Linked DNA regions of Homo sapiens: regions 1, 2, 3 and 4 are each linked to region 5. Evidence: promoter capture Hi-C in 16 types of primary human blood cells and fetal thymus (Javierre and others, 2016). All regions are on one chromosome and are shown on one strand. The core of a region is centred on a gene start or on the middle of the fragment in contact, and the rest is flanking DNA. Distances in the headings are between cores, read along the strand shown.

Region 1 (3,312 bases), core at 77-2,576, 750 kb after region 5:
AAAATGTATTCCATGGAATTATGGCATGCATTTACATATTCATGGGCCTTAGAGGATATCCAAGTTTAAATTAGGAGCTTTCTCTTCAATTCTATCAAAGCTTGGAATTGCCATGGGAGTATGGCACCAATACTCTGGCAAGGAAGTTTGTCCCCTGAAGCCTCTCAGAGAAGGATCACCCAGCAGGGCTGCCACTATTCACACATAATGCTTGACCTATAAAAGCTTTCCCTTATTATGCAATGCACCTTAATTATTTCCATTCTATTCTAGTCCATTTCTTTAAAATGCTGGTCACATTCACTATATTGATTACCTGACCCACTAATGGACTGTGATCTGTAGTTGGAAAAATACTGCAGTAGAAAAATGAAGAGTGACCCCAAACTAAAGACTCTAACAGGAAGCCACAAAGACTGCTTGGAAGGTTTGGGAATGTTGTAGTCAAATCCATACCCAGAATGTGCTTATCAAGTGTGGCTTGCAGCTCGTGATCTGGGATGCCAGGCTGTCTGGATGCACTATGGCGGCAGTATCATGGGCTCACAAAATGGGGAGAAGGGATGGGAGATGGCTTTGAATTCTTTCTCCTTTAGCGTGGTGTTCAGGAACAAGCCACCTCTCTTAGCTTGGAGGGGAGGCTCATAGAGCTCTGTCATCCACAAGGAAATCTCCCATCCTTTGAGAGGAAATGCAAATGTCATCATCCCTTTCCTTGATGGGTCCTGTAAGGGTCTACTTTCCTTGACCCTTACAGTTGAAAGTCCTCTTTTTTCTTAACCCCTAGGGCACATAATTTATTTCTCACTTTGAGTACCTAACACTTTCTAAACTATGCTTTCAGCTTTTTTCCTTTATTGACTGTATGTAGCATCAGGACTATGATGATGTCCTACTCATTTTGTATCCCTGTGTCTAGTATGTGCCTTGCACATATCAGGTGCTCAATCAGCATTTAGGACATACACAAAGAGGCCAGAGAAATGCTTTGTCTTATAACATTATCCCTCTGTATCCATGGAGAATTGGTCCCAGGAACCGCCCTCCTCCCCACCACCACCCTGCAGACATCCAAATCCTCAGATGCTCAAGTCCCTTATATAAAACGGTCTAGTAAAATAATGTGTGCACATGGATACAGAGAGGGGAATATTAGATATTGAAGACTCTGAGGGGTGGGAGGGTGGGAGGACATGAAGGATGAGGATTTACTTAATGGGTACAATGTCGCTAAAAACCCAGACTTCACCACTATACAACATATTCATGTAACAAAATGGCATTTATAACCCTTAAATATATAAAAACAAAATAAAATGGTGTCATATTTGCATATAACCTATACATATCCTTCCATATACTTTAAATCATCTCTAGATTACTGTATACCAAATATAATGTAAATGCTATATAAATAGTGGATGTACTGTATTGGTTTTTTATTTGTATATTTTTTATTGTTGTATGGTTATTTTTTATTTTATTCTCAAGAATATTTTTGACCCAAAATTCATGGATGTGGAGCCCATGGATAAGAAGTGCCACCTGTTCTCAGAACTTGAGAATGATTTATCTTTGAGATGATGTCACTAGGATTCTGCAGGAGGCTCACTTATCAGCATTGGTATTCCCACATATCTTACCTTCTTACTCTTCTCCTTCTCCCTCCTTCTCCTTCTCCTTCTTGCTCCTTCTCCTTCTTTTTTAGAGAAGAGTCTATGTTGCCCAGGCTGATCTCAAATTCCTGGCCTCAAGTGACCCTCCCACCTCAGCCCCCCAAAGTGCTGGGATTACAGGCATGAGCCACCTCTTACCCTGAGCCTGCCCATTTTCCCATGCATCCATCCTCCCATCCAGCTCTTATTGAGAACCTGCTGTGTTCCTGTGCTAATCGTGGTGGTTACTAAGGTGGGTAGGGCAGTGCCTGCCTCTAGATCCCAAGTCTAGTGAGGCAGAAGAGAAGTGAGGGGGTAATGACCACAATGTGAGAAGCGCTATAAGGGGGGCAGTGGCCCACGTCTCCCAACTCATGTCACAGTGCAGTGCTCTCTCACCATATGCTTTTTGACTGCTTCTCTCAGACTTCTTTTTTTTTTCTTTTTTTTTTTAGATGGAGTCTCTCCCTGTCGCCCAGGCTGGAGTACAGTGGTGTGATCTCGGCTCACTGCAACCTCCACCTCCTGGGTTCAAGCGACTCTCTCCCTCAGCCTCCCAAGTAGCTGGAATTACAGGCGCCTACCACCACGCCTGGCTAATTTTTGTATTGTTAGTAGAGACGGGGTTTCATCATGCTGGCCAAGCTGGTCTTGAACTCCTGACCTCATGATCCACCTGTCTTGGCCTCCCAAAGTGCTGGGATTACAGGCGTGAGCCAGCGTGCCTGGCCTCTCAGATTTCTTAAACTCTGCCCCACCAGCAAAGATTTTGTTAAGCTTTATATCCCATAGTTTGTATTAGGAAAACAATAGCTGTGTTAAAAAATTAAATTGTTATAATATTGAATATGCATTTTCTAAGTGTTCACGTGTCTAAAGCAACAGGTGATACAGTGGGAACTGCAATACGGTGTGAAAAGGAAATTATTTAAACAAATAATAATAATCGAATTATCTTCAAGACATTTCCTTTGGCCAGGAATAACATCTGAACAGAAGCGTGACCCTGGCCTAAAGGTTTCTGCATGATCCGGTCCCTACCTGCTCATCCCTGGCCACAACCTCTTCCCTCATTGTGCAGCAGCCCTGGTGGGCTTCGCTGTCCCTCTTCTTCGTACACTCTTCACCTATCCCTTCCAGGTCCACGGCCCTTCTTATCCTTCAGGTCTCAGCCTAATAAGTCATCAGACAGGTCTTCTCTGACGACTTTGCAAAAAAGCTGTTGCCCACCTTAGTCTCCATCCTAGGAGTCTGATCTTTTCCTTCATAGACCTAATCACAAAGTGTAATTATTTCATTTGTTTGGTTGTCTCTCTTGCTAGACTGTGAACTCCACAAACTGTTCACCAGCCTATCCCCAGAGACTCGCATGGTTTCTGGCACATGGCAGACACTATAAATACATTTTGAATAAATGCATGTTAGGGCGGCTCACAGAAAGCATCTACTTGAAAGGGAGGACATCTCACCAGCGGGGGACAGCGCTGCAGAACCCAGCAGCGGAACAACAGCGACACCAAGTGGCCAGTCCGCATTACCCACAGCAGCTGTTCCTTGCCAGAAATCTCAGGCCTTGGAAGGCTGATGCTTGTAATTTAATGTGGATACTAATCCATTAAGCTTGTTTATTCATTTCCTTAATTTAAAAAAAATCTAG
Region 2 (3,326 bases), core at 111-2,610, 640 kb after region 5:
AGGGTCTTGCTCTGTCACCCAGGCTGGAGTGCAGCGGTGCTATCACCACTGCACTGCAGCGTCAACCTGACCTCCTGGGCTCAAGTGATCCCCGCTTCAGCCTTCTGAGTAACTGGGACTACAAGCACACCACCATGCCTAGTTAATTTTTGTATTTTTTATAGAGGGAGGGTTTCACTATGTTGCCCAGGCTTGTCTCAAACTCCTGGGCTCAAGCAATCCACCTGCCTCCGCCTCCCAAAGTGCTGGGATTACAGACAAGAACCACCATGCCTGGCCTTGATATCTTCTTGATATTGACTCTCAACTCTCTGTCTCTTCACTCCATAAAAGAGCCTTTTCTTCCATATTTGCCTTTTCTTTTTTCTTTTTCTTTTCTCTTTTTTCTTTCTGAAGTAGAGACAGGGTCTCACTCTGTTGGCCAGGCTGGAGTGCAGTGGTGTGATCATAGCTCACTGCTGCCTTGAACTCCTGGGCTCAAGCAAACTTTCTGCCTCAGTTTCCCAAGTAGCTGGGACTATATGCATGTGCCACCATACCTGCACATTTGATTTTTGAATGCCAGTGATACCCAAGTCTCTACCTTCTGCTTCTCATTCTACCATCTGTCTCTTTTTTGTGACCTCATGTATGCCCCTAGCTTCAACAGCCACTTATGTATTGGCTCTCAGATCTCAATATCTATCCCAGACCTCTCTGTTGAGCTCCAAACTTATATATCCAATTGCCAACAGTAGGCATTCACATGGGTAGGCACTGCATACCTACCTGAGGAACCCTAATAAAAACCCAAGTTCATCCACACGAACTTGAATGGCTCAGAGACCCTTAAATTCAATATGTCCAGAACAATTCATTATCCCTGTGTCAGGGGTCCCTAAGATCACCCTTAAGCTTGATGAACTCACATGAACTAGAAAGACTCACAGGACTCAGAAAAGCTGTTATACTTATGGTCATGATTTATTACCGCAAAAGGTTACAGATTAAAATCAGCAAAGGGGCAGGCACCTGAGCAAAGTCTTGGAAAAAGCAAGCACAAACTTCCAGGTATCCTCTCCCAGTGGAGTCACAGCAATATGTGACAATACATGTGAAGTGTTGCCACAGAAGTTCACCCAAGACTTGGTGCTCAGGATTTTTATTGTTTTTATTGGGGGTCATCAGGTAGGTATGCAGTGCCTACCCAGGTGACTGATCTCAGCTACTCAGACTCCAGCCCACAGGCAAAAAAGGCATTCACCATAAATCACATTGTTAGGATAAACTTACCTAGTCACACCGGTACAGCATGGCCCGAGGCCTCAGGCATGCAAAATCACTCTTAGCAGGCAGAATGTGTAAGACTCAGAGGTCATTTTCCAGTCCTGAAGACAGACCTTTGCTGGGTTAACACACAGGCAACCCAGGTCTGCTGACTAGACTATTTCCTGCTCAATCCCCTAAAGCTGTTCTTCTGTAAGCCCTTTCATCCACCGCTATCTGAGCCAGAGATTGTTTTACTTAACACCGACATCCAATCAGAGTCTACCTGTAGGAACATGCATTCCTCTCAATCACTTCTTGCTTGGATTACTGCAACCTGGTATCATCTCCACTTTGCTTTCTTTTCAGCAGTTCTCCATATGGAATTAGAATTGTGATAAATGCTATGACAGAAGGATATGCAGTTAAAGCATTTGTAATAAATGCTTTAATAGAGGTATACTCACAATGCTATGACAAGGAGAGAGAGGGAACACTCTGGGTCACAGTTGTGCTTGACCAAGCACATCACTAAGCCTTCAGGGTAAGTTCAAAACTTCTTGAATCTGAGACCCTTTTAACCTGGCTCCTCTCTACCCCTCCCACTGTTCTCCCACACCACTTTGTTCTTACAAAGCTATTTGTAATTTCCCTGGAGGTCATTTGGTTTCATACCTCTGATCTTGTATGTTCTGTTCCCTCTTCAATACTTAACTCAAGCATCCTCTCTGACCTCCTATTCCGCAGGCTAAACATGCTTCTCCCCCTCTTCCCTGCCTCAGAGCCCTCCAAAACCTTTATTGGAGCACTTACTCAGGTGCCTTAAGTGGCCCATTGGCTTGTTTGCCGCAGTAGTTTGTTAGTTTCTGAGGGCAATGGCCAAGTCACCTTCCATGTTAGAATCCCAGCACCTAGCATAGCAATCCTAATAAGTACTCAATAAACATTTGCTGAATGAATAAAAGGGAGAAAGTTCAATTCTGAGAGCAGAGTTGTGACTGCCTCCCCACAGAGTCAGAAAAAGCTTTATAGATGTAAGAACCATTTAAGTTGATATTGAAGGAAAATAAAATTTCATCAATTTTTTATTTGCACATAACCAAAATTGTATTGAAAAACACCAAAATAGGAGATCACTGCTGCATACCTTACAAAATCAAACACACTTACTTATCTTGGTAGATGAACCAGAATTACTGAACTTATGATAAGCCTTTCTGGGACATAACAAATTCAGGATGTTGTGTGGATCATTAGTGTTGCTTTCTTTTAAATGAACACTCTTCTGTGAGCTTGGTGTTTCATCCTGTAGGCTGGCACAACACTGTTGAAGAACCTACACAAAGATCCACTGTCTGAGTGTAACTGCCAAATGGGTTCATTTTGCCCACTGCCTATATAGAACCAATTTATCAAGACAGAGGCACTGCAACACAGAAAGAGTTTAATTCACACAGAGGCAGCTGAACAGGATACTGGAGTCTTATTTTTACTCAAATCAGCATCCCTGAAAATTTGGAGGCTAGGGTTTTTCAAGGATGGTTTGGCAGGCAAGGGAATGGGTGCTGCTGATTGGTTGGGGGTGCAATCAGAGGGGTGTGCAGAATTTGCTTCTTGGTGGGGCCACAGGACTGGTTGGCAGGTCCAAGTGGAGCCATGGTAGTCAGAAATACAAAAGCCTGAAAAGACATCTCAGAAGACCAATCTTAGGTTCTACAATAGTGATGTTATCTGCAGGAGTAATTGGGGGAAGTTGCAAATCTTGTGACCTCCAGAATAATGGCTTGTAATTGTTTAGGTCTACCCCTTAGCAGAGTTCGTGCTCCTCTCATCCACCTAGCCTGGTGGTCTTTCATTTGCTTTACAAAGGTGGTTTAGTTTTGGGGAAGGGCTGTTATCATTTAAACTATAAATTTCTCCCAAAGTTAGCTTGGCCCAAGCCCAGGAATGACTAAGGCAGTCCGGAGGTTCAAGGCAAGATGGGAGTTGGTTAGATCAGATAGATCCCTTTCACTGTCATTGTTTTTTAATTGTTATGATTTTTGCAAAGATGGTTTCATGGGCATGGCTGAAAAACATGG
Region 3 (3,803 bases), core at 76-2,575, 780 kb after region 5:
AAGTATGGTGACTGGAGGACATCTCTGCAGGCAGAAGCAGCACTGAAGGCACCTGGAATGAAGATGAGTGGAAAACATCTCAGTAAACACAGCACTATTCATGATAGCCTAGATGTGGAAACAACCTAAGTGCCCATTGATGAATGAATGGATAAATAAATTGTGATATCTATATATATTACAATATCCCTACAATGGAATACTATTCAGCCTTTAAAAAGGAGATACTGCTATTTGCTACAACATGAATGAACCTGGAGTACTTTATGCTAAAAAGTAAGACAGATACAGAAAGAAAACTACTGCATGATCTCACTTGTATGTGGAATCTAACAAAAAGTCTAATACATAGAAACAGAGTAGAACAGTGGTTACCAAGGGTGGGGAGGGGAAAGAAATGGGGAGTTTGTCAGAAGGTACAAAGTTATGTGGGAAGGATAAATTTAAAAATCCAACATACAGCAGGAGGACTATAGTTAATCATACAGTCTTGTATATTGAAAAGTTGCTAAGAGACTAGATTTTAGGTGCTCTTACTGAAAACAGGGTAACTAGAGAAGGTAGGGAAGGTGATGAATACGTTAATTTGCTTACCTGCAATAATCGTTTCACTATGTATATCAAAACATCATGTTGTATACCTTAAATATATACAATAGAAAATAAATAATAAAATAAACACAGATTAAAAAATAAAAACAACTCAAGATACAAATGTACATATGGCTGGCTGTAGATGTAGTTACTGGCTAAGGCATGGATTCTGAGCCAATCCCTTTGAGTTCAGATCATGGCTCTTCCACTTTCTCACTGTATGTTCTTCAGTGATGGCATCTTTTTTAATGGCTTAGGAATTTTTTAAAGTCCTAAATTAGGTAGTTTTAGCTGGTAGATCCGTGGATATGTCTTGTTCTTCTTCTTCACTCTTTGTAAATAGGGGATAATAATACCACCTACCCCAGGGTTATTGTGAGATTTAATAAGTAAATATGTACACACAGAGAGAGGCAAAGAAAGACAGAGCAGTTGGAACAGTCCCTGACAAGCAACTTTAAAGTGTTGGCTATTATTATAAGGGAAGGGCCAGGTAAATGCTGGTGCTTGACACTTATTTACTTAAAAAAGAGAAAAGAAAAGAAAAGAAACAAGTCATACCCAACATCTACCAGCTTAAACCACCTAATTTAGGGTAAAAAAAAATTCCAGACAATGGAAAAGATGCTGTCTCTTAATTATTCAGGGAATGGCTTTTCTCTAGGAAAGGCAATCTGAAATGTGTCCTGGCAAACCAACTCTTCGGCTAAAGACACATGGTGGCTCTTGGTTGGGCGTGGATTAAAGCGCAGCTCCTCCCGCTTTCCAAACTCAGAAAGGAGGAGGAATGTTAAGTGTGGCTGCATTGTCATTAATTAATTTCTCAAGGGCTGCAGTAATCAGGAAGCTCATTAATGTGTTTTAGCCTGCCTTTCATTTAGAGAATGAGTAGGAAATGTAAATGGAGTGCACTTAGAAACCTTAAAAATCGTTCAGTGCTGTAGTGCGGGGGGAGAAACCATGGTATGTCTCTAAGGAAAAGCAAAAACCCACAAGGGCTTCTTTAATCACATGAAAGAGAAGCAATTCTAACTCAACAGCAGCAGAGGCTCCCCGTGGCGTTTCAAAATATTATCATTTGGACTTGGTTGTTCCTCTACTCTTGTGCCATGTTTAAAGACGCCACGCTCCATCCATATTTATACTTCTCCCAGCAGGGAGCATAATTGTGAAGGGCAAATTCCAGGGGCCAGAGCTCCGCGGGGCCATTCCACAGGGTGCTGCCAGGAGCTCCCCTGGGGTATTCATTAGGAAAGGCGGCGCAGAGGAAATCAGGTCTCCACGGCTCCCCCTAGCGGAGGCTCTGCTGTTGGGCCAGGTTGGGGGCGGGGCACCAGCAGCTTCTCTAATTCTTCAAGGCCAACCTAGGGCCATACATGTTCTCCTTCATTCTGCTCTTGACCGCCCCGGAGGAGGTGCCTGAAATTGAGCTCATTCCTTCTCCTCTGTGAAGTCAGCGTGTTTCAGAGGCCTCCTCTCACAGACGTGGACCAATTCTTCCCTTGCAATTCCTGTTAAATGTATACATAAAGCACTTAGAACAGGAGGCAGTGTTCTGTCATTCTCATTGTGATTGTTAGTGCTAGCTAGTGGCAGACAGTGGGCCACCCGGTTTTGGGGGGTGTTTACCCCTCCAGTTTCCACACGGGGCTTCCTGACAATGATCACTAAACAATTCGTCACACGACCAGCCATAGAATCTTGAGTTGTGACTCAAACCTCCCTCTGTCCTATGTCCACATCCTTATCTTTGGTAGATGCAGGTCTCACTTTTACTCTCCTCTCGATGTGAGAGGGAGGGGCTGGGCCTGAGTCCACATACACCCTCTCTAGTAGGACGTGCCTCTGGTGGGCATGGACATGAGCCTACAGGAAGCCAAGTTTCTTCTGACCAGAAAAGGGAAGCCAAGTAATCTATGTCTCTCCCTGGGGAGACCAGGGAACAAATAAGCCACTTAACACTTATCCTGCCCCATCTTACCCCGCCCCCACCTCTCCCAGGGGACCTTGCATACATGACCCTCTCCTATGACCCCAACCGAACTTTCCTCTTCAGTTCAGTTCAACAAACGTCTATTGAACACCATGTGCCAAGCCCTATGCCAGGTGAGGGGATCCAAAATGAATAAGACGTGTTTCCATTCTTAAGGAACAGATTAGGGAGTAAGTCAAACCCAGAGGCATTATTCCAACAAATGGGAGTACAGAGGGGGCTGGAACTCAACCTAGGCTTCCTGGAAAGGAAGGGAGCCTGAGGTTGGCCTTGGCAGACATGTGGCAGGTTCCCCGGGACTGGAGAGTGGTGGGCATAGGACAGCGTGGCAATGTGCCTCCAAGGTGAGCACGGTACTTGGCACACAGTAGGTGGTCAGCACACGCACTGAGCTGATAGATGGAGCAGGTAGCCAGCAGTCAGTGCTACTGGTGCGTGAACGCTGGCCTGTGGGGGTTGATGGCGCTGAAGAGGGTCTGAAGCCCGAACCTGAGGAGGGCCTTGAGTGCCAGGCCCTTATCTTATAAGACCTTACCCTACAAGAGTTTGAAGCAAAAGAGTGACATAGTCAGATTTACATCTTCTTTGCTCATTATTCCACTACCCTAAGGAAGCCTCCTGAGAACTTTGAAGAGTTGCCCTCTAAGATCACAGTCTCATGTGACTGGTATTGCAAGCAGCTACTCTCCAGCCATATTATAATCGTGGTGCTCCTTCAGCCAACAAATGGGCTAACTAGATAGCTAATCTTGAGATACTCGGTCGACAGTTTATAGGGTGAAATGTTCAGTCTCTACCTTAGTTCCTAATCTGTAAACAGACCTTTTGAATTCTATTGAAAAGCTTTCTCCACAAACCTTTCCTACAAACAAGAGTTTATTCCCACCTCCTGTCCTTAACTGCTACAATGCACTCTTACCATCATGAACACACCTCTGCACATCCAAGTACCCAGTCCTATTTGTACACTTACGGACCAGTATCATAATATGACATCCTGGATCAACTTCTGAAATGCAATAAGCAACGTGTCACAGCATAGGAAAGAATCAACTTCAGGCTTGGGCACAAGGTAGGCCAAGGCTGACATTCAAAAGAGGGCTGTCTATTGTAATGTCTAGTTTTAAACCTGGATCATGCCTCACTCTCTGAGATTTCTGCTACGTTTTAACGATTTTTCTGAAGATTGAATAAAATAATGAGTAAAGTGCTTAAA
Region 4 (3,454 bases), core at 1-2,500, 800 kb after region 5:
ATATACAACAGGTTAATTTCCTTAAACACATCCATACTTGAATTGAAATCAGCCTAGGGTTGGGTGATACTTACCCACTGTACTGTATTAGTTTCTCTGGGCTGCTGTAATAAATCATCATAAACCAGGTGGCTTCAAACAACAGAAATTTATTCTCTCACCATTTTGGAGGCTGGGATTCCGAAATCAAGGTGTCAGCAGGGCCATGACCCTCTGGAGTCTCTAGAGGTGAATCCCTCCCTACCTCTTCCAGCTTTTGGTGGCTGTTGGCATTCCCGGGCTTCCTTGGCTTGTGGCCACATCACTGCTATCTCTAGCTTCATGTTCACAGCACCTTTGCCTCCACGTGTCTCCACTTTTCTTATAAGGACGGTTGTCATTGGATTTAGGTCCCAGTCAGGTATTCCAGGATAATCTTATATTAAGATTCTTAACTTCATTACATCTGCAAAGATCAATTTTCCAAATAAAGTAACATGCACAAGTTCTAGGGATTTGGAGGTAAACATATCTTTTTAGGGGCCACCATTCAACCCACTGCACCCACAAAAGAGCTACCTGTCACTCCCATGAGTCATGGTAACGCCCAGAGGTGGTGTCTGGGAAGCTAACTGCCTTGCCATCAGCAATGCTGCTGGAACATGCTTCGTTCTATTTATAGCGGCACTATCAATGCCCTTCAGATGATGTGTCTCACAGTCCATGTCCCCAAGTTCACATTCTACTTTACTGAGTTTCTTTATCTCCTCACAGAAGCCTGCAGCACCCCCACCCCACTCCCCTGGACTGCATACTTCACCCAATTATGTTTTGCATATAGATAGATAGATAGATAGATAGATAGATAGATAGATAGATAGATGTATATTTGTGTATATACATATACATATATATGTGTGTATATATATATGTATTTTTTTTCTGATTCTCTCCAAAGACATTTGAACTTGATAGATAGAATCCTGCATTCTTTCAATCTGTTAGGATAATTAATTCTTAGGGCTATTAAAATGACATCCAGTTGAATTCTGGCACCTCTCTTATGGCTTTGCCTGACTAGTTGGTCACACTTCTGAGGTCTTTCCACTGTTTCAAACAGCTGGGTAAGAATTCTTTTAGGGCTTTCGGCAACTGTTGAAAAAGGAATACCAAAGAACCAATCCTGACAATAGGTCTTTGCTTAAAGGAGGTAGAATTGTGAAGTGATAAAGAAACTCAATCCCAGCACTTTGGGAGGCCAAAACAAGATGTTTGCTTAAGGCTAGAAGTTTGAGACCAGCCTGAATAACATAGTAAGACCCCCATTTCTAAAAAAAAAAAAAAAAAAGATTAGGCATGGTGGCCCATGCCTATAGTCCTACATCCTCAGGAGGCTAAGGCAGGAGGATGGCTTGAGCCCAAGAGTTCAGGGCTGCAGTGAGCTATGATCATGCCACTGCGCTCCAGCCTGGGTGACACAGTGAGACAGAAAGAGAGAGAGAGAAAGAAAGAGAGAGAGAGGAAGAAAGGAAGGAAGGAAGGAAGGAAGGAAGGAAGGAAGGAAATAGTAAGACCCCCATTTCTAAAAAAAAAGAAAAAGATTAGTCAGGCATGGTGGCCTGCATCTGTAGTCCTACCTCCTCAGGAGGCTAAGGCAGGAAGATGGCTTGAGTCCAAGAGTTTGAGGCTGCAGTGAGTTATGATCATGCCACTGCACTCCTGCCTGGGTGATACACTGAGACCCTGGAAAGAAAAGAAAAGAAAGAAGAAAGAGAAGAGAAGAGAGGGAGGGGGAGGGAGGGGGGATAGAGAAAGAAAGAAAGAAAGAGAGAGAAGGAGGGAGAGAGAGAGAAGAAAGAAAGAAAGAAAGAGAGAGAGAAAGAAAAGAAAAGAAAGAAAGAAAAAGAAAGAGAGAGAAAGAAAGAAAGAAAGAAAGAAAGAAAGAAAGAAAGAAAGAAAGAAAGAAAGAAAGAAAAAGAAAGAGAAAGAAAGAAAGAAAGAAAGAAAAAGAAATTTATATATACCTATATATGCTGTGTGGTTTGGGAAAATCACTTAACCTTTCTGATCTGGTGTACTGGTGTACTCCTGTCTATACAACGGAGGTAACATCACTCCAAGTTACTTCATTGGGTTGTGATAATTTAAAGAAATGATGCTTGCAGAATGCTTCCCACAGTGCTCAACTTATAAGCACACGATAAGTGTTAGTGATTAGAATACTTGAATTTGGCCAGCCATAGTGGCTCACGCCTGTAATCCCAGTACTCTGGGAGGCTGAGGCAGGTAGAGCACCTGAGGTCAAGAGTTCAAGACCAGCCTAGCCAACATGGTGAAACCCCGTCTCTACTAAAAATACAAAAAACACTAGCTGGGCGAGGTGGCAGGTGCCTGTAATCCAGATTCTCAGGAGGCTGAGGCAGAAGAATCTCTTGAACCTGGGAGGCAGAGGTTGCAGTGAGCCGAGATGGCACCACTGCACTCCAGCCTAGGTGACAGAGCGAGACTCCATCTCAAAACAAAACAAAACAAAACAGAATACTTGAATTTGTGTGCCTAGAGTAGTTGTTCAGAAGAGTGTTCCCATTCTCTCTTAGGGACTATATGAACACAAATTCAATGGAAAGAGACAGTACAGTATTGCACACTTTAAAATATGTTAAGAGGATAGATCTCATGTTAAGTGTTCTTACCACACACACACACACACATGCACACACACAGACAGACAAGGAACACCAGGAAATATTTGGAGGTGATGGATATGTTTAGTGATTTGATTGTGATGATGGTATTACAGGTGTATGCATATGCCCAAGCTCATCAAATGTGTACATTAAACATGTGCAATTTTTTGTATCGATTATACCTTAGTAAAGCTTAAAAAACAAATCCAGAAGATGGAAATATTCCTTAAAAGGAGGTTCCCTCCTGTATATTATACATTCATTCTTTATTATTTATATCCAAATATTTACAGAACACCTACTATCTGCCAGGCTGTTCTAAGTGCTTGGAATAGATCACTGAACATAAGAGGCAACAGTCCCTGCCTCATGGAGCTTAGGTTCTAGTAGGGGGAGCGTTTTAGAAGATGATAAGTACTATGAAAAAAATGGAGCAGAGGAAGGGGGAAGGTCAGAACCAGGAGTGGGGTGGGTTACAATTTAGATAGGATGGTTGGGGAAAGTCTCATGTAGAAGGAGGCATTTGGGTACAGATTTGAAGGAGCTGAGGAAGTAAGCCATGTGCAGATATATGGGAGAGGAACCAAGAGCACAAGGGCCCTGAGGCAGTAGCATCCCTGGCATGTTCAAGGACAAGCAAGAGGATGATGTAATGGGAATGGTGTGAGTGAGGGGGAGAGTAGAAGGAGGAGAGGTAAAGAGGTGACGGGGTAAATCGTGAAGGTCGCTGACATCACTTTAATAAGATGGGAAGCCACTGCAAAGTTCAGAGTGGGGAGTGACATGAC
Region 5 (3,830 bases), core at 952-3,451:
TCCCCCTTAGGATTAAACAGATTGGATTACAAGATGCCTTGCCAAGGTTCAGGATATAGGTTATAGCCATGTAAAGAACAAAATGAAATGACTTTTAGGAATCAAACTCAAGACTCTTCACAAGACCCCACTTCTCATACTCTTGTTTGAACAACAAATATAAATTTGTGCCTCCATTTTATGTCCTTATTTAGGCAGTGGACTTTATCAATACCCCCGTTAACTTGAAAAAGAATTCTCCAATGCAAATGGTTCAATACTTTAGAAATGACATACTAAGATGACTCTGTTCCTGCCTACCATCAATACTATGTGAGTATTTAGAGATAATGAGCATCTGTACTATAGCAACCTGCCTCTTGAGACATAAACAAGAGATGCATTTCTTAAGAAAAAATCTGTAAGTCGCTAATGAAAGCAAGTCAAAGGACCCATCAACGGGCGAAGAAAGACCTAGCATCCATTATTTTTACAGAAGGAGCATAGAAGGTCAATATAATTGTTGACTCTTAACGGCAGGGTAACAACAAACTAATTCAGTTTCCCACTATATAAGAACTACATTTTACTACAACACTCATATTTCTAAACTGACTAAGAGTCAAGGCTTGTCCAAATTCCATGGCTTACTGAGTGGTCTTGAACCTTCTCTGAATTTTGTTCCTTAGTCTGTAAAATGGAGTTATCACCTGTTATGCAATATCACAGAGTTGTAATGAATCAAGTAACATTATCTTAGTATGGGTTCACCTGTCACCCTATTGTGGGGTGCAGTTCAGTCGCACACCTCATGAACTAAGTAACTATTATTACTGTAAATGTCTCCCTAACATTTAAGACAGAAAAAGATTTCCAGAGTTCTTCTTACGTTTTTAATCGACTTCTCCAACACTTGAGCATCCACCAAATATCACTGCCAAAAATGTGCTGAACATCTCCTGTTATGACCTCACTCTCCTATGTAGTGTTGTTCACATATTTTTTGCCATAAGCTTTCTAAGAAAATAGATTATTTTTCACATGATTCAAAGCATCTTTCTTTCATATTGAAGGAGCAATAATTCCTTATGCAGAAAGTTTACAGGTTGTTGTTGCTGTTGTTTGAGATTACTCCTCAATTAATTAATTCTATGTTTAATATCTAATAGAGCATATATATGTACACTTGGACACACTCCATTAATACAGTGGAAAATCCATGGACTATAGAGTCAGGAAAACCTATATTCGAATTCCTGTTCTGTGACCTTGAGAATGTAATTTAACTTCCCTGCTCCTCAGTTTCCACATTTGGTTCTGGATTATGATGATTTAATAAAATACGATATATAAAAGTAAGTGCCTAGGCTATGAAGGTATTATTTCCTACCTCTCCTAAATCTTTTCTTTCTATGCCAGGATCAATCAAACCCACCCAGAATACAAGGCAACTTTCATAGGGTATCTTTTACATCAGTCGAGGGAACGCTGCGATGTGATATAAGTGGATGATGGCATGAGTCAGGCATCCAACAGAGCAAGATGTGGAGAAAGTGAGAGGTACCTACAAGGGCCCTAGACTTCACTCGCATGTGCGAAAAGGGCATTTTGATACCCTTTCAAGAATGCCCCGCATACTCGCGGAGGCTTATACCACGATGTGGGAAAACGACGGAATTACAGAATAAACCAGCAGGGAGCCTCCTCGTTCACCCAACCCGACCCCGCCCGCCCGAGTCTCCCATCTGGAGCCTAAAAACTGAGCTGAGATCACAGCAACTGACCCCGTCCCCTCCGCCCTCTCCCTCCCCCATTCTGCCCAAACCTCTCAGGGCACGAATGGTGCTGAATCATTTGCACGAACGCAGCAGCTCCCCGTTCCGCGGCTCCCAGCGGGGACGGTGTCCCCAGAGCAGTGACAGTCCGGGGATGGGGGCCCGGAAAGAGGGCCAGGGCGGAGCCTTTGGGGACGTGGGGACATGGAAGGGGGTCGGGGGAGGATGGCGGCAGCAGGTACTCACCCGGGTGAGGAAAGCCCAGCCCGGGTCCTCGCGTCCCCGCTGCAAGCGGTCCCCCAGGTGCTCCCGCGCCTCGCAGCTTCCCCGTGGGCGGCCGCCCCGACTCGGCAGCCTGCACTGGTGGTCCGGTGCTCTCCTCCGCCCGCCCACCGCCCGTGGCAGCCACGGCTCGGGACTCCGGTGCTCGACGCGGAGTGCCTGGAACAGCTGTCGCTGCCCAAGCGGGTGGCGGCTACCGACGGGCCAGACCATTCGCCTGCTGCGGCCGGGGGTGCACGACGTGCCGAGAGGCGCGGGCGCCGGGGGCGGCGACGGTTGGGAGGAACAAAGGACTCGGGGAATCCTCTGCCCCCTCGGAGTCAGGAGGTCCTGGGGACAGGAGGGATCAACGGAGGGGCCGCTGCCTCTTCTGGGGGTTTACTGAAGACACTGCTCGAGCTTTCCCGGGCCACACACACCCCCCCCCCGTTTGCCTTGGTCCCGCTCGGGGCTCCTTTAGAACGCGGCAAACAGAGGACTTAGCAACGCGAGCGCCTGGGCGGCGCCCCTCCTCAGAGATGCGAGAGGCGCTGGCCTGAGCGCCTCCGGCCACCTCCTTCTACCTCCGGGCCCTAGGCGCCCGATCCACCTGCCTATCTGACCACAGACATCTTCCCACAAAACAGTGGAGCTTTTTGAATCTTTGAAGAGAGTCTTCAGATCTTTTATCTAAGCATCTTTGTGAAGCAAAGAATAAACGGGTATCTGAGGCCAGCTCGAAAGTTAGGAAATAAAATCAGGTGGGGCCCCATCCCGTAGATGCTGAGGGACAGCTCTGACCTAGAGTTCCTGCTAAGCAAATGTTGAACCACGGCAGTTGTAAAAAAATGTAGATTTAGGAAGCCATTTCGAGATAAAGATTTACAGAAGATTGTTGCAGAAATTAAAGAATATTCGAGGTTCATTGTTCACCATTTTAGAGTTGCGTGTCTTGAAAACGGGAAGGCAATCATGTCTTCTCATAAAATGAATTGTATAGAACTGGAAGAAGTCCTAACACATGAATTCCTTAGACTTTTGTGGTCCCTGCTTCTGTCACGCTGGGTTCACACAGGTTCATTTCAGAGCATGGTGAAGATCAGGACAAGTGTACAGTTTTCCCTGTAGAAAAAAAGAAAAGATAGAACAGAATTGGCAACTACCTATAAAATGTGATTAAAGGTAGGAAAAAAAAAGGCCCTCCAAGTGCATCCCAAAAAATATAAAATTTCACAATTTAAAGTTTTGTCCTTCGTTGAGTAAATCAACATAAATTCAGCACTTTCTATAGACCACTGTGCTGAGAATAGTCTCATTTTCATTTCTTCATTTATTCTTCTAAAAACTCCTGTGAGATTGGTAACCTGCAATAGACCTCCATACAGCCTTGCCAGCATTGGGAACTGATCTGGTCAGTGAGGGCATCTTCTCATAAAGGACACTGGTGAGAAACTGGGCTCAGGGTTTGTCGTGCTGGGTTAGTCTCACGATCATAAGCGGCAGAGCAGACATTGCCACCTGGAGTTTTTGACTTGTTCCTTTCCCCTAGAATGCCTCTGAGAACGATATACATTAAACCGTGTCACATCTGTGATTGCAACTTGAATGTGAGTCTGTTTATCCTTCCTTTGTGAGAAGGGGTTTTAGAATGGAGAGGGGGCAGTTAGGTGTCCAGGGTAGGCATCACCCTGAGGCAAGAAGAGTGATCAGAAAGAAGAAGCTGGACTTCACCCAGAACTAGCCGAACATCAGCGTCACAATACACTGTCAAGGTCACATGAGGTTGAAGAGGAATTCTCCACTGCCTTCTTGTTA

What was found. Contacts are between HindIII fragments. The CHiCAGO score rates a contact against its expected background, and 5 or more counts as called.
Region 1: a fragment that was not itself captured here is called in contact with the fragment with the promoter of TTLL7 in region 5 in 1 of 17 cell types (total B cells); the score reaches 5.6 in total B cells.
Region 2: a contact is called between the fragment with the promoter of LINC01555 here and the fragment with the promoter of TTLL7 in region 5, in 14 of 17 cell types (non-activated CD4 T cells, activated CD4 T cells, naive B cells and 11 more). The highest score is 11.2, in non-activated CD4 T cells.
Region 3: a fragment that was not itself captured here is called in contact with the fragment with the promoter of TTLL7 in region 5 in 1 of 17 cell types (erythroblasts); the score reaches 6.9 in erythroblasts.
Region 4: a fragment that was not itself captured here is called in contact with the fragment with the promoter of TTLL7 in region 5 in 1 of 17 cell types (total B cells); the score reaches 6.8 in total B cells.

Annotation. Positions count from the first base shown.
Region 1 is chr1:84,750,561-84,753,872 of GRCh38, forward strand. No RefSeq gene overlaps it. Among named protein-coding and RNA genes, the nearest start is that of SSX2IP, 62 kb to the left of the region's middle. RefSeq lists a silencer at 3,085-3,134. The HindIII fragment of the contact is 2,207 bases long and covers 224-2,430 here.
Region 2 is chr1:84,633,660-84,636,985 of GRCh38, forward strand. LINC01555 (long intergenic non-protein coding RNA 1555) reads right to left here and starts at 1,361. Exons shown (of 3, transcript NR_027379.1): 1 at 1,273-1,361. It overlaps LOC124904206 (a long non-coding RNA gene), which reads left to right. Exons shown (of 5, transcript XR_007066196.1): 4 at 1,615-1,789. The HindIII fragment of the contact is 1,375 bases long and covers 893-2,267 here.
Region 3 is chr1:84,780,773-84,784,575 of GRCh38, forward strand. LOC102724892 (a long non-coding RNA gene) reads right to left here. Exons shown (of 3, transcript XR_426717.3): 3 at 234-2,105. Among named protein-coding and RNA genes, the nearest start is that of SSX2IP, 92 kb to the left of the region's middle. RefSeq lists enhancers at 1,575-1,664, 1,705-1,784, 1,975-2,024. The HindIII fragment of the contact is 4,206 bases long and covers 1-3,428 here.
Region 4 is chr1:84,797,157-84,800,610 of GRCh38, forward strand. LOC102724892 (a long non-coding RNA gene) reads right to left here and starts at 522. Exons shown (of 3, transcript XR_426717.3): 1 at 75-522. The HindIII fragment of the contact is 3,211 bases long and covers 1-2,856 here.
Region 5 is chr1:83,996,931-84,000,760 of GRCh38, forward strand. It overlaps TTLL7 (tubulin tyrosine ligase like 7), which reads right to left and starts at 2,202. Exons shown (of 21, transcript NM_024686.6): 1 at 2,001-2,202. It overlaps LOC124904205 (a long non-coding RNA gene), which reads left to right and starts at 2,358. Exons shown (of 2, transcript XR_007066195.1): 1 at 2,358-2,776. RefSeq lists silencers at 1,862-1,991, 2,002-2,101. The HindIII fragment of the contact is 3,041 bases long and covers 991-3,830 here.